2 separate regions of the Homo sapiens genome follow, and region 1 is linked to region 2. Evidence: promoter capture Hi-C in 16 types of primary human blood cells and fetal thymus (Javierre and others, 2016). All regions are on one chromosome and are shown on one strand. The core of a region is centred on a gene start or on the middle of the fragment in contact, and the rest is flanking DNA. Distances in the headings are between cores, read along the strand shown. Region 1 has its middle 20 kb from the start of BNIP5. Region 2 holds the start of SLC26A8 (solute carrier family 26 member 8).

Region 1 (6,156 bases), core at 2,952-5,451, 330 kb after region 2:
CAGCAGTGTGAAAACGGACTAATACAATGATGTTAGCATTTCTTCATGTGCTTATTTGTTATTTGTGTATCTTCTTAGGAAAAATCTCTATTCATGTCCTTTGCCCAATTTGGGGTTTTTTGTCTTTTTATTATTGAGTTGTAGGAATTCTTTATCAATCCTGGATACAATTCTTTTATCAGATATATGATTTGGAGATATTTTCTCCCATCCTATGGGTTTTTTTTTTTTTTTTTACTTTCTTGATGGTGTCCTATGAAGCACAAAGGCTTTTAATTTTGATGGAGTTCAATTTATCTATTTTTTTATTACTTATTCTTTTGGTGTTATATTTAAGACACAATGGCCTAATCCAAGGTCATGAAGATTTACTCCTATGTTTTATTCTAGGAGTTTTACAGTTTTAGCTCTTACGTTTATGTCTTTGACATATTTTGAGTTAATTTTTGGAGATGGTGTAAGGTAAGGGGACAACTTTATTCTTTTGCATGTGGACACCCATTGTCCCAACACTATTTGTTGAAAAAACTGTTCTTAATCTATATCCTTATGCCATTACCAATCTTTGTTGAGTACTATAGCTTTGTAGCAAGTTTCAAAATCAGGAAGTGTGGGTCCTCCAACTTTGTTTTTCTTTCCAAGACTGTTTTGGCTATTTGGGGTCACTGGAAACTCCATATGAATATGAAGATCAGCTGAAGTCCATTTCTGCAATAAAAAAAAAAAGCAGTTGGAATTTTGATAGGGATTGCATTGAATATGTAGACCAATTTAGGGAGTATTGCCATCTTAACAATCCAGGAACATGTTATATCTGTCCATTTATTTAGATTTGCTTTAATTTCTTTCAACAATGCTTTGTAGTTTTCAGAGTATATGTCTTGTGCTTTAAGTTTATTTGTGTTTTATTCTTTTGATGGTATTGGAAATAGAATTATTTTGAATTTCATTTTCAGGTTGTTCATTGTCATAGATAGAAATACAATTGACTTTTGTAGGTTAGTCTTGTATTCTGCAAACTTACTGAACTCATTAATTAGTTCTCATAGTTTTTTTATTCCTTAGGATTTTTATACACAGTATCATGTTATCTATGAACAGAGATAGTTTTACTTCTTCCTTTCCAACCTAGATGCTTTTTATTTCTTTTTCTTGCCTCACTGCTCTGACTAGAACCCTGCAATATTAGGAGAAAAGCATCTAGTCGTTCACCATTAAGTAGGATGGTAGCTGTGGGGTTTTCACAGATGGTCTTGATCAGCTTGAGGAAGTTCTCTTCTAGTCTTGGTTTGTTGAATATTTTTATGATAAGACACTTGGATTTTGTCAAATGCTTTTTCCCTATCTATTGAGATGATTATGTGGGTTTTGTCTTTCATTTTATTAGTGTGGTATATAACACTGATGTTCATAGACTTTTTTTTTTTTTTGAGACAGAGTCTCACTCTGTCATCCAGGCTGGAGTGCAGTGGCATGATCTTACTCCAACCTCCAACTCTCCGCCTCACTCCAACCTCTGCCTCTCGGGTTCAAGTGATTCTCCTGCCTCAGCCTCCCAAGTATCTGGGATTACAGGCATGCGCCATTGCGCCTGGCTAACTTTTGTATTTTTTGGTAGAGACAGGGTTTCACCATGTTGGCCAGGCTGGTCTCGAACTCCTGGCCTCAACTTATCTGCCCACCTTGGCTTCCCAAAGTGCTGGGATTACAGGTGTGAGCCACCGCACCCAGCCCATAAGCTCTTAAAGTATGGATTTGAGAGAAAACTAGAATCATATCTAAATATCAGGCCTTTAATCCCTGTAGGAGGAGATGGTACACATGGCATTGTCGATTGATCCTGGGAATATTTGACACCACTCAGTTTAATATCCTGAGCTCCAAGGCAGTCATTCCCTCTGATTCATCCCAGAACAAAGGACGTCTTAAAAACCTCTCATTACAGGAACTCTCCTCCTACGACAGAGATAAGTGGTAGGCCTGGCAGTGAACTTAAAGAGTATCAAACAATCCCTTGACTAAAAATTGTACCTCCTTAAGAAATAGACCTTTCATAATTGTGCAAGACAGAAACCACAACTCAAACCAACATAAGTGAAAAGGAGATGTATTCGAAAGCTATTGGGATTGTCAAAGAATTGAAGCAATTACAGCTATCAAAATTTCACATGTGGCTGGGCACAGTGGCTCACGCCTGTAATCCCTTCTCTTTGGGAAGCCAAGGCAGGTGGATTGCATTGAGCTCAGGAGTTTTGAGACCAGCCTAGGCAACACAGTGAAACAATGATGAGCAATGATGGCACCATTGCACTCCAGCCTGGGTAAAAGAGTGAGACCCTGTCTCAAAAAAAAAAAAAAAACAAAAAAAAACACAAACAAACACACGTATCCCAAACATATATACAACTATTATATATCAATTTTTTAAAAAGAATTGAAGAAAGATCTGCAGGGATCATGACAGCTCCGAGAGCCCCAAGATTAGAAGTGGAGACCAGACCCTCCAGGGACTTCACCTCACCTTTCTGCCCCTCTGGTGTCCCCTCATGGCAGAAGACACAGCTGCCACTAGCTTGGGGTAACTTCCCAGCCAGACACAGAAAGAGAAATCCCAGGGAAGGACCCTGATTGGCCTATCCTGGATCATGCACCATCTGGACCAGTTGCTGTGGCCACGGAAATGGGCTTCTCTTAATGGCCCAGCCTGGGCTACAGGGCCCTCCCCAACTGCTGGGGGCAGGACACTGTGATGGAGTAGGAAAAGAGTTACTCCCAGAGACAAAGTTATTACCAGGAGGATGGTAGATGGAATGCTGGGCTGACACCTGCATTACTTCACAGCCAGTCTCTCCTAAGGATTAAGGCATTGTCCTGTGAAGATGTGTGTATCAAGTGGAGATACACTATGGAGGGAAATTTGCGGGACCCCATCACCACCCGTGAAAACATCATCACAGGTTAATTCATCAAAGTTCTATGCCATAACGCAAAGAAGCAGCTGTAAAGGATTGGAAGCCAGCATGGAGTTTTGATGGGAAGTTGGGAGAAGATATATGGCAGACAGTGCATTACAAATTATCTCTTTTTTTTGGATCCACAAGGAGAAACCTATGTTTTAATCTACATGTAGGGAGCCAGGTATCTCAGGAAAATCAAGATACCATTTGCCACTGAGAGGGCTGCTGAATGTCAGTTGAACAGATTTCAACTGAAAGCCTAAAAGGTCCAGGGGAAGGAGCAGTGACACAGCTTGGAAAGGATATGGCTGCACAGAGAGGGCAGCGCACAGAAGCTGCAGCCTTAAGTAGGAGAACACAGCCAACCTGTGGGAGCCAGCAGGGAGGGACTAGAGAAATAAAATACCTTGGCAATCTCCGACCAGAGAGTTTCTTGACTAAAACCAACCAGGAGCCAGAGGACAGGAAGCCCACTGGGGCAATCCATACAGGACAGTCTCCTGGCCACAGAGCAGGATGAAGAGGGGTGGAGAATGGTGTAAATAAGAGGAAAAGTCACTCAAAAGGAGCAAGGAATATAGGTGGAATATCACAAGCCTGAGTTCTGACAACAAATATGGGCAGAAATGATGGGCGCCTCCCATAAGAACACCTCCCCGGCCACGTGCGCTGGCTCATGCCTGTAATCCCAGCACTTTGGGAGGTCAAGGCAGGCAGATCACCTGAGGTCAGAAGTTCGAGACCAGCCTGGCCAACATGGAAAAACCCTATCTCTACTAAAAATATAAAAAATTAGCCAAGTTTGGTGGCACACACCTGTAATCCCAGCTACTCGGGAGGCTGAGGCATGAGAATCACTTGAACCTGGTAGGTGGAGGTTGCAGTGAGCCAAAATTGTACCACTGCACTCCAGCCCAGGTGACAGAGTGAGATTCTGTCTCAAAAACAAAAACAAAAACAAACAAAAAAACACCTCCCCAATCCTTCACGCTTTCTCCTCCCTACCTGCGGGCTGGGTGTCAATCCCCCATACAGAAACCACATGAAGGAGACAGTACAACCTCCATCAGCCTGGGTCCCCAGATGACTTCATGGGGAAGATCCCTCCCCACCCATGAACCAAGCTTTATGTGGCCAAGAAAATGAATGTCTATCACATCAAGCCACTGAGATTTCAGTTGAGATGCTATGGCCAGCATGACTCTAACTGATACAGTAGCTGCAGATGACGTAGGGCTGGCCTCCTTAGAAGGGAAGCTGGACTTTGATCTGGACATGTCTTCCTCACTTAAAAGCTGGGTGAATTAATTTGCATTGTCAGAAAGGCACTTCATCTTGCTCAAAATAAAGATGTGGTTGAGCTGCCAAGCTTTTGTTTCTGTCATTTCACTGGGGGCCTTCTGCTGCTGGCTCTAGTTCAGGTCTCCTGCTTTGTCAAAGGCCCTTTTTTCTTTTGGTGGCCAATCAAGACCCAGCTTGGTAAATTACTCACTGGTCAGTCAGGAAAAAATAATGTTCTTATTGCAAATCACTTTAGAGTTTGCAGAGGGCTAGAGTTGGCATATTCTGTTCCTAAGGTTGGAAGGGTCCCTGGCTGAAAGCCCAGAATCCCAGAATCTCAAGGTCCCCCTGATGTTCAGTTTCCCCATCCCCCAAACCCTAACACTGGGTCAGCTCACTGACCCTTGTGGGGGTGGTGGAGAAGAAAGTGCCTTTGTTGGTGCTTTAGAAGCTCTCTAGAGATTTGCACGCCACGTTCAGCCACCCACAATCAGCTGTCCCCTGAGAATCTGATATGTACTCCCCACCCCACACCACAGGTCGAGAACCTGAGCTTGTCACTGGCTGGAGCATATGATCATGTGACTGAGGGGAAAGCTCTTCCTGCTCAGAATTGCTGGAATTTTAAGAGCCATATTTAGAACTCTGGGGCTTTCCAGCCAGAGCACTTTCAACAATACACCGTGCTTCCTTGAGTTAGGATGTTTAGATGGGCCAGATCTAGAGAACTGAGGTCTATTCAGGAGACTTTGTGATCTCGGTCTTAGCTGATGGCTCCCCCAAAGGAAGAGGATGGGAGAGGGGCAGCTCTAGGCCAAGATGGTCTTCTCCACCCAGCCTGTCTACATTATTCATATCCATTAAGATTGCATTGGGTTGCACATAACAAACTAACAACAGTGTCCATCTTTCATGGTGTGACCTGCAGATTAAACAGAAAGGGGATGGACAGGCTGGGCGAAGTGGCTCACACCTATAATCCCAGCACTTTGGGAGGCCAAGGTGGGCAAATCACCTGAGGTCGAGAGTTCAAGACCAGCCTGACCAACATGGAGAAACCCTGTCTCTACTAAAAATACAAAAATTAGCCAGGTGTGGTGGTGCACGCCTGTGATCCCAGCTACTCAGGAGGCTGAGGCAGGAGGACCACTTGAACCTAGGAGGCGGAGGTTGCGGTGAGCCAAGATTGCACCATTGCTCTCCAGCCTGGGTAACAAGAGCGAAACTCAGTCTCAAAAAAAAAAAGAAAAAAGAAAAAAAGAAAAAAGAAAGAAAGGGGACAGTCTACTACAGGAGAGAAAGTGACATAGGTAAAGATGATTTGTTCCTGCTTACACATGTTTTTTACATCTCTGACAGCTCAATTTAAATTTGGCCCCTCTCACTTGATTCTATTTTATTTTCCTTCATAGTACATATCACCACCTGCCATTTTATTCTGTATTGATTTGTTTATTTATCTGTTCTGGTCACCACAATATTCCTGTTTCTAGACAGTGCTTAACCTACAGTAGGTGCTCAATGAATGTTAAATAAATGAATGCATTATTTCATTTGAAATTTCTCAACTCCATGTGCTAAGCAGGGCAAAGGATGTTGTCTTTCATTTTACAAAAGTAGAAAGTGAGTCCTAGAAGGGTGGTGTAACTAAAGCCAGTAGAAAACTAAGGAAGCCTCAGTCCTTTTTTTTTTTCTTTTGAGACCGAGTCTCACTCTGATGCCAGGCTGGAGTGAGTGGCGCGATCTCGGCTCACTGCCTCCACCTCCCGGGTTCAAGTGATTCTCCTGCCTCAGCCTCCCAAGTAGCTGGGACTACAGGCATGTGCCACCATGCCCAGCTAATTTTTTTATTTTTAGTAGAGACGGAGTTTCACCATGTTGGCCAGGATGGTCTCGATTTCTTGACCTCGTAATCCGC
Region 2 (6,374 bases), core at 579-3,078:
ATTTTCATGTACTAGCAGGACACTTCCCAAGAAGATGCAATGACCAGAAACTCCTACTGTTGAGTAGGCCCCACTTAGCAAGACCTACTGAATCAGAAACTCTGGGGGCCATCAGTCTGTTTTAAGAAGCTGTCCAGACTGCTGGGCCCCCAGAGATTCTGATTCAGTAGGTCTTGCTAGGTAGAAAAAAAGCAAAGAAGCTGTCCAGGTGATTCTGATAAAAATTAAAGTATGACTACCACTATAAATATAGTGGATTATCTTTCATGAGCCTTTCAGTGCTAAATTTGGGGGCCCTGTTAAAATACAAGCACTTTTGGCCTAGCTCTTTCACCCTCCATAGTACCCTTATCCATCCATCCATCCATCCATCCATCCATCCATCCATCCATCCATTTATCTAATTATTTACATTATCTGTGTTCAGAGTGCTTTAAAAGTAAAGAATAGGCCAGACATGGCTCAGTGGCTCATGCCTGTAATCCCAGCACTTTGGAAGGCCAAGGCGGTTGGATCAGCTGAGGTCAGGAGTTCAAGACCAGCCTGGCCAACATGGTGAAACCCCGTCTCTAATAAAAATACAAAAATTAGCCGAGCATGATGGCGTGCCTGTAGTCCTGGCTACTCAGGAGGGTGAGGCAGGAGAATCGCTTGAACCTAGGAGGCAGAGGTTGCAGTGAACCGAGATCAAACCACTGCATTCCAGCCTGGGCGACAGAGCAAGACTCTGTCTCAAAAAAAAAAAAAAAAAAAAAAGTCAAGAATAAAAAGTTTAAATACAATCCAATTTTTTAGCTATTGACCCAAATAATATGAAATCTTGAAAGCTAGTTTAGTTGCAGGAATATCTTCCCCCTGATATTGTTAACTTTCTTATGTTTTCTATAATCACGGAAAGGCAAAATTTACTTCCGAATTTTCAAAATAAGCATTTGTAATTCCATCAGAAACAACCCTACACCTGTTACTACCTAGGTTTTTATGGAGAATGTATTGGGAATACAGAAAAGGTATAAGCAAAGAGCCTGGCCTTTAGATCCTTTAGTCACTCTGGCTAGTGGCTAGGGATGACTAGTAAGATGACAGTCCTTAAGCGGATGACCATTGGACACATAAACATAGGACAACCACCTTCCATGCAATGTGGATAGAGTAACATGGTGTGTTGGAGAGATGCTCATTATTGGGGTGGGGGTGCTGGAGAAGGCTTCACGGGGCCCCTGACACATCAACGGCATTTGACATGAAAAGAAAGGGGCAAGGAGGTGGGGGTGGGGATTCAGTCACAGGGAACAAAATTAACAAAAGCAGTGGGGTCTGAAAGGAAGAGGAACGGCCGGGCAGTCAGGCCTCAGGAGGAAATGGATGGGGTAGGCGGTGGGGTGCAGGTAGCACGTCAGTTCTGGGGCTTTTGACAATATAGACAGGAGAATTTGAAAGGATGCAGCTTGCAAAACGCACACACTGTTGTCTCTTGTCATTGCCATCCACACGGCCTTTGAAAGTAGAGACAATACCTCAGAGATAAGCTCCCAGGGACGACCATCATTCATTCATTCCACAGATACTGACTGAGTGCCCACGGCGTGCCTGGCTCTGCGGCATACCTGGGTACCTGCCGGTGACGGACGCAGCCCCCGCCCTGGGACCTGCAGCCCCCGGCGCCCAGGCGTCTCCCAGCAGCGGCTCACCTGGCTCCTTGGCGGGGGCGGGAGTGCGGGCGCTGGGATCCCACACGGCTCTCGCCTGGCTGGCGGCGCTGCGGACGCGGATACCGGCGGCGGTTCCCGAGCCGTTGTGGCCTAGCCCGCGGGCGTTCCGGGCGGGCTGAGGAGATGAGAGTGGGGGAGGGGACGAGGAAGAGGAGCATGAGCAGCTGGGCTAGGGAGCCAGGAAAGTGGTACCTGGGTCGCCCTCCTCATACCTGAGTCGTGGGATCCCCTTGGTATTTGGTAAACCTGTATACCAAGGCTCCTTCTCTCTCCGAGGTTTTGCTATTCTTGATCGAGGGCCTATTTGGTGCCAGGCCTCGTGTCCTGAACATACAGCAGTGCACATGTGTCACATGTGTACTGCACAGACGGTAATTCACTAACGTCTCCGGAAGACTTAAGCCTTCCTCAGGTCAGAAGAGGTAAAAAGAAATGGAGGCTAGGAGGGTCACCCAGGTCTCCAACCATAGGCTGTCTGCCCCACAAACCCGGCTCTCCCCACTGAATGACACCCTCCTGCCCAGATCTGCTCTGGATGCAGACATGCCATCTGCACTCACTCCCTTTACCCTCCTCCCACCCTATCCCTGTCCCTAGCACTGTCTCTCACTCCACCTTGTATTCCTGCTTGGCCCAGTTACAGTTTTACACTTGTTTGTTTGATGACTGTGTTAATGTCTACCTTATAATGCACTTTATGTATTCCTTTTTGTAAATCATCTTACCCCTATGAGGGCAAGGACTTTTATCCCTTTCATTAACTGTTTTATTATCAGTGCCTACAGCAGTGTGGTGGACATAGGAAGTATTCAATTAATTTTTGTTGAATGATTGCCCTCCCATTGATTGTAAGCTCCACACCGGCAGCAACTGTAGTTTTTAATCACTTTTAAACTGCAAGTGTTTGACACCTAGTAGGCATTTAATACACATTGGTTGAATGAGTGTATGAATATACTGCTTACTTTATCTTTACCCTTTCATTCACCCTCACCTCATCATCCCAATTTGTAGGATAAAAATGTGCATTTCTGAGGATTCCTACTTCCAAGCTTCCTCCTCACCCTTTGTAACCATTCCCTCATTCCCTTGATCCCCCCAACCCCATCCCTCATGTCTTCACAATCATGTTTTTGCTCTTACTTCCCCTTCACCCTCCATTACTTCTTAGAAAGCTTCCTATCCTCCCTAGTTTGGAACATTCTCAAGCAACATGTTTTTGTAGATAAGAGAATTCCAGCCTAAGCTACATTGGATCCAAAACAGCTTTCCATGAATCACCCATGACTATCTGTTTTTTGGTTTTATATTGCTTTCCTTGAAGAGGACTGAGGATACTGTACCACTTGAAATCATGGTCACTGTTCATAATTTTTTCAACAAATATTTATGACACATGTTTTATGTTCTAGACATTGTGCTAGATGTTGGGACAAGATATGCAAAGTCTGAGCCCTCCAAGGTGTGTATGACACAAAATAGAATAATCACGGGAAATGTTGAGAAATGTCCTGGCTTGGATCTAGTTATTTCTAATACAAGAAACTAAGAGAATGAGACAGGATCTGATTCTTCTGCTCATTGTAACAAGCTTTAGCATAGGCATAGGTTGATAATGGATGTAGGCATGGGGTTAGAATGCCTTGCCCATTCACATTTATCTTGTTTGGTTTTTACAAATGACTCTGTTAGTCGGGAATGCAGGGCAGGAATTCTCTCGTAGAAGCTGGAACTGAGGTTCAGGAAAGGTCAGTTGACTTGCCTAAATTCGATGAGACTCCTGCCCTATTCTCCTTACTCGAAGAGGCCTGAGTTAAATGCTTAAAATCCTCTTCACTGATGGCTCTTCAGGATAGGAGTCAGTTTCAAATCTTCAGTGTAACGGTTTTTTAAATGCTTCTCAAAGGGAGATATCAGAGACTTTCCTGAATCAGAATCACCTAAGATGTATTATAAAAATGCATGCTCTTGATCAAGACCTCCTCTGACCTACCCAATTAGACTCCCTGTGAGTTCTGGGAACTTGCATCTTAAACTCCCAGGGTGATTTTTCTGCATGTAAGTTTAACTGGGAGAGTTTTAATGTAAAGCTTCGGTTTGTTTTTGTTTTTGTTTTTGTTTTTGAGACGGAGTCTCCCTCTGACGCCAGGCTGGAGTGCAGTGGCGCGATTTTAGCTCACTGCAACCTCCGCCTCCTGGATTCATGCAATTCTCCTGCCTCAGCCTCCCGAGAAGCTGGGACTACAGGGTCGTGCCACCACGCCCAGCTAATTTTTGTATTTTTTTTAGTAGAGACGAGGTTTCACCATGTTGGCCAGGATGGTCTCTATCGCTTGACCTCGTGATCCACCCGCCTCGGCCTCCCAAAGTGCTGGGATAACAGGTGTGAGCCACTGAGCCCAGCCCCTGGAAAGCCTCAGCTTTGATGCAGGGTTAACATTTGCCTTTGGGACATATTTCGTCAGCATCTCAAAGAGTAACCCATATGTCCTTGAGCAGATGGGAATGCAACAGCCTTCTGGCCGGAACCTGTCTCTTTCTTTCTTTCTTTCTTTTGAGACGGAGTTTCGCTCTTGTTGCCCAGGCTGGAGTGTAATGGCACGATCTCGGCTCACCGCAACTCCGCCTCCCGGGTTCAAGCGATTCTCCTGCCTCAGCCTCCCGAATAGCTAAGACTCCAGGTGCGCGCCACTACGCCCGGTTAATTTTGCATTTTTAGTAGAGACGGGGTTTCTCCATGTTGGTCAGGCTGGTCTCGAACTCCCGACCTCAGGTGATCCGCCCGCCTCGGCCTCCCAAAGTGCTGGGATTACAGGCGTGAGCCACCACGCCCGGCCACTTGTCTCTTTTTTATGCAAGTGTTTTTTGGAATTTGGGGGTTCAGGTGAGCAGGTGCTCTGCTGCTGGTAACTACTCGCAGTTAAAGATCTTTTGACTCTTTCCCCGACACGCTATTTGTCAGTGTCGTTTTCCACCACAGAGCCAGGTATTTGCCCCGCCGGCCACGGTGAGGCGCGCGAGGCGTGTGCTGCCAGCTTCTCTCTTCCTTCCCCGGTCCGCCTTCGCGCCCTTAAGGAGACAGTCCCTGGGAGTTTCTGCCTTTGGTCTCCAGTTATTGTTCTCTTCTCGCGAGAACTGCTCCTCCCATCCTCTTCTCTCACGAAGCCCCGCCCGCGGAGAGGTTCCATATTGGGTAAAATCTCGGCTCTCGGAGAGTCCCGGGAGCTGTTCTCGCGAGAGTACTGCGGGAGGCTCCCGTTTGCTGGCTCTTGGAACCGCGACCACTGGAGCCTTAGCGGGCGCAGCAGCTGGAACGGGAGTACTGCGACGCAGCCCGGAGTCGGCCTTGTAGGGGCGAAGGTGCAGGGAGATCGCGGCGGGCGCAGTCTTGAGCGCCGGAGCGCGTCCCTGCCCTTAGCGGGGCTTGCCCCAGTCGCAGGGGCACATCCAGCCGCTGCGGCTGACAGCAGCCGCGCGCGCGGGAGTCTGCGGGGTCGCGGCAGCCGCACCTGCGCGGGCGACCAGCGCAAGGTCCCCGCCCGGCTGGGCGGGCAGCAAGGGCCGGGGAGAGGGTGCGGGTGCAGGCGGGGGCCCCACAGGGCCACCTTCTTGCCCGGCGGCTGCCGCTGGAAAATGTCTCAGGAGAGGCCCACGTTCTACCGGCAGGAGCTGAACAAGACAATCTGGGAGGTGCCCGAGCGTTACCAGAACCTGTCTCCAGTGGGCTCTGGCGCCTATGGCTCTGTGTGGTGAGTGTCGCTGGGCCTGGGGCCGCTGTGGGCAGGGTGGCCCCTCGCGCCCGAGGGCCAGGCCTGCTCCACTGCTCAGCGTTGCGTCAAGTGGCAGGAATTTTCCTCGGGGGAGGGCATTGCTGCCCCTTCGAGCTCTGCCCGTTCTGCACCTCCAGCACCCCTCGCCCTGCACTCACGCAGGTATGCGGTCCACCGTGTGCAGCACTCAGGTCCGCTGCGAGAGGTAGGTGGTGGTGCTGGAGCTCGGTTCTGGCTAGCACCCTGCGCCTTCCCCTCTCGGAGGGTTGCTGCTCGGCAACAGGCACCGGGGGAAGGGCCGCTTCCTTGGGGGTCTCCCTGCCTACCTGGAGCAGAAGGACCCTCTCCCGTGATGCGCCCACGCTGGGGCTCCGGACCCTGGGTCCTCTGAGCAGACAAGCTCGGGGAACTGCCGGGAGAAGCAGAAGGGCACAGCCCAACCCGAAGACTGCGGTCATCTGAACAAAACTGACCAGGAAGGGAGCTCTCTCCGGGCCTTTTTTTTTTTTTTTTTTTTTCAAAACTCTGTCGAAATCCCATCTTGAAAAGCGTTCTTTTTGAATTCGCACTTGAATTAACAGCGATCCATAGAGCTTAAAATACCGACTTTATCTCGGTGAGCACTGTGCCAGCTTGAGTGGTGTGTTTCCGATTCGGTTGAAAGCGTATTTCCTTTCCGTGGAGGGGCGGCGGTGGTAGTGCCTGCAAGAACACTGCAGCTTGAGAAACTGGCAGGCTCACTGATTAGTCACATACCACTGCTCATTTAAGTATTGTTCGACAAAACAATTTTCTCATTTGGAGCAAGAAAGATTCAGATCTGTAAGGCGCCCTCAAGATCAAAAAGTTATTAACAGTGCTGGGAGGTATTGTAAATATTTTTTGAGATAAT

The links. Contacts are between HindIII fragments. The CHiCAGO score rates a contact against its expected background, and 5 or more counts as called.
Region 1: a contact is called between a fragment that was not itself captured here and the fragment with the promoter of SLC26A8 in region 2, in 15 of 17 cell types (total CD8 T cells, naive CD4 T cells, total B cells and 12 more). The highest score is 27.3, in total CD8 T cells.

Annotation. Positions count from the first base shown.
Region 1 is chr6:36,353,980-36,360,135 of GRCh38, forward strand. It overlaps a transcript of ETV7 not described here. Among named protein-coding and RNA genes, the nearest start is that of BNIP5, 20 kb to the left of the region's middle. The HindIII fragment of the contact is 245 bases long and covers 4,080-4,324 here.
Region 2 is chr6:36,022,813-36,029,186 of GRCh38, forward strand. SLC26A8 (solute carrier family 26 member 8) reads right to left here and starts at 1,829. Exons shown (of 20, transcript NM_052961.4): 1 at 1,692-1,829. It overlaps MAPK14 (mitogen-activated protein kinase 14), which reads left to right and starts at 4,996. Exons shown (of 12, transcript NM_139012.3): 1 at 4,996-5,461. The coding sequence starts at 5,346. RefSeq lists enhancers at 1,274-1,775, 1,776-2,275, 4,607-5,046 and a silencer at 5,237-5,336. The HindIII fragment of the contact is 10,062 bases long and covers 1-2,762 here.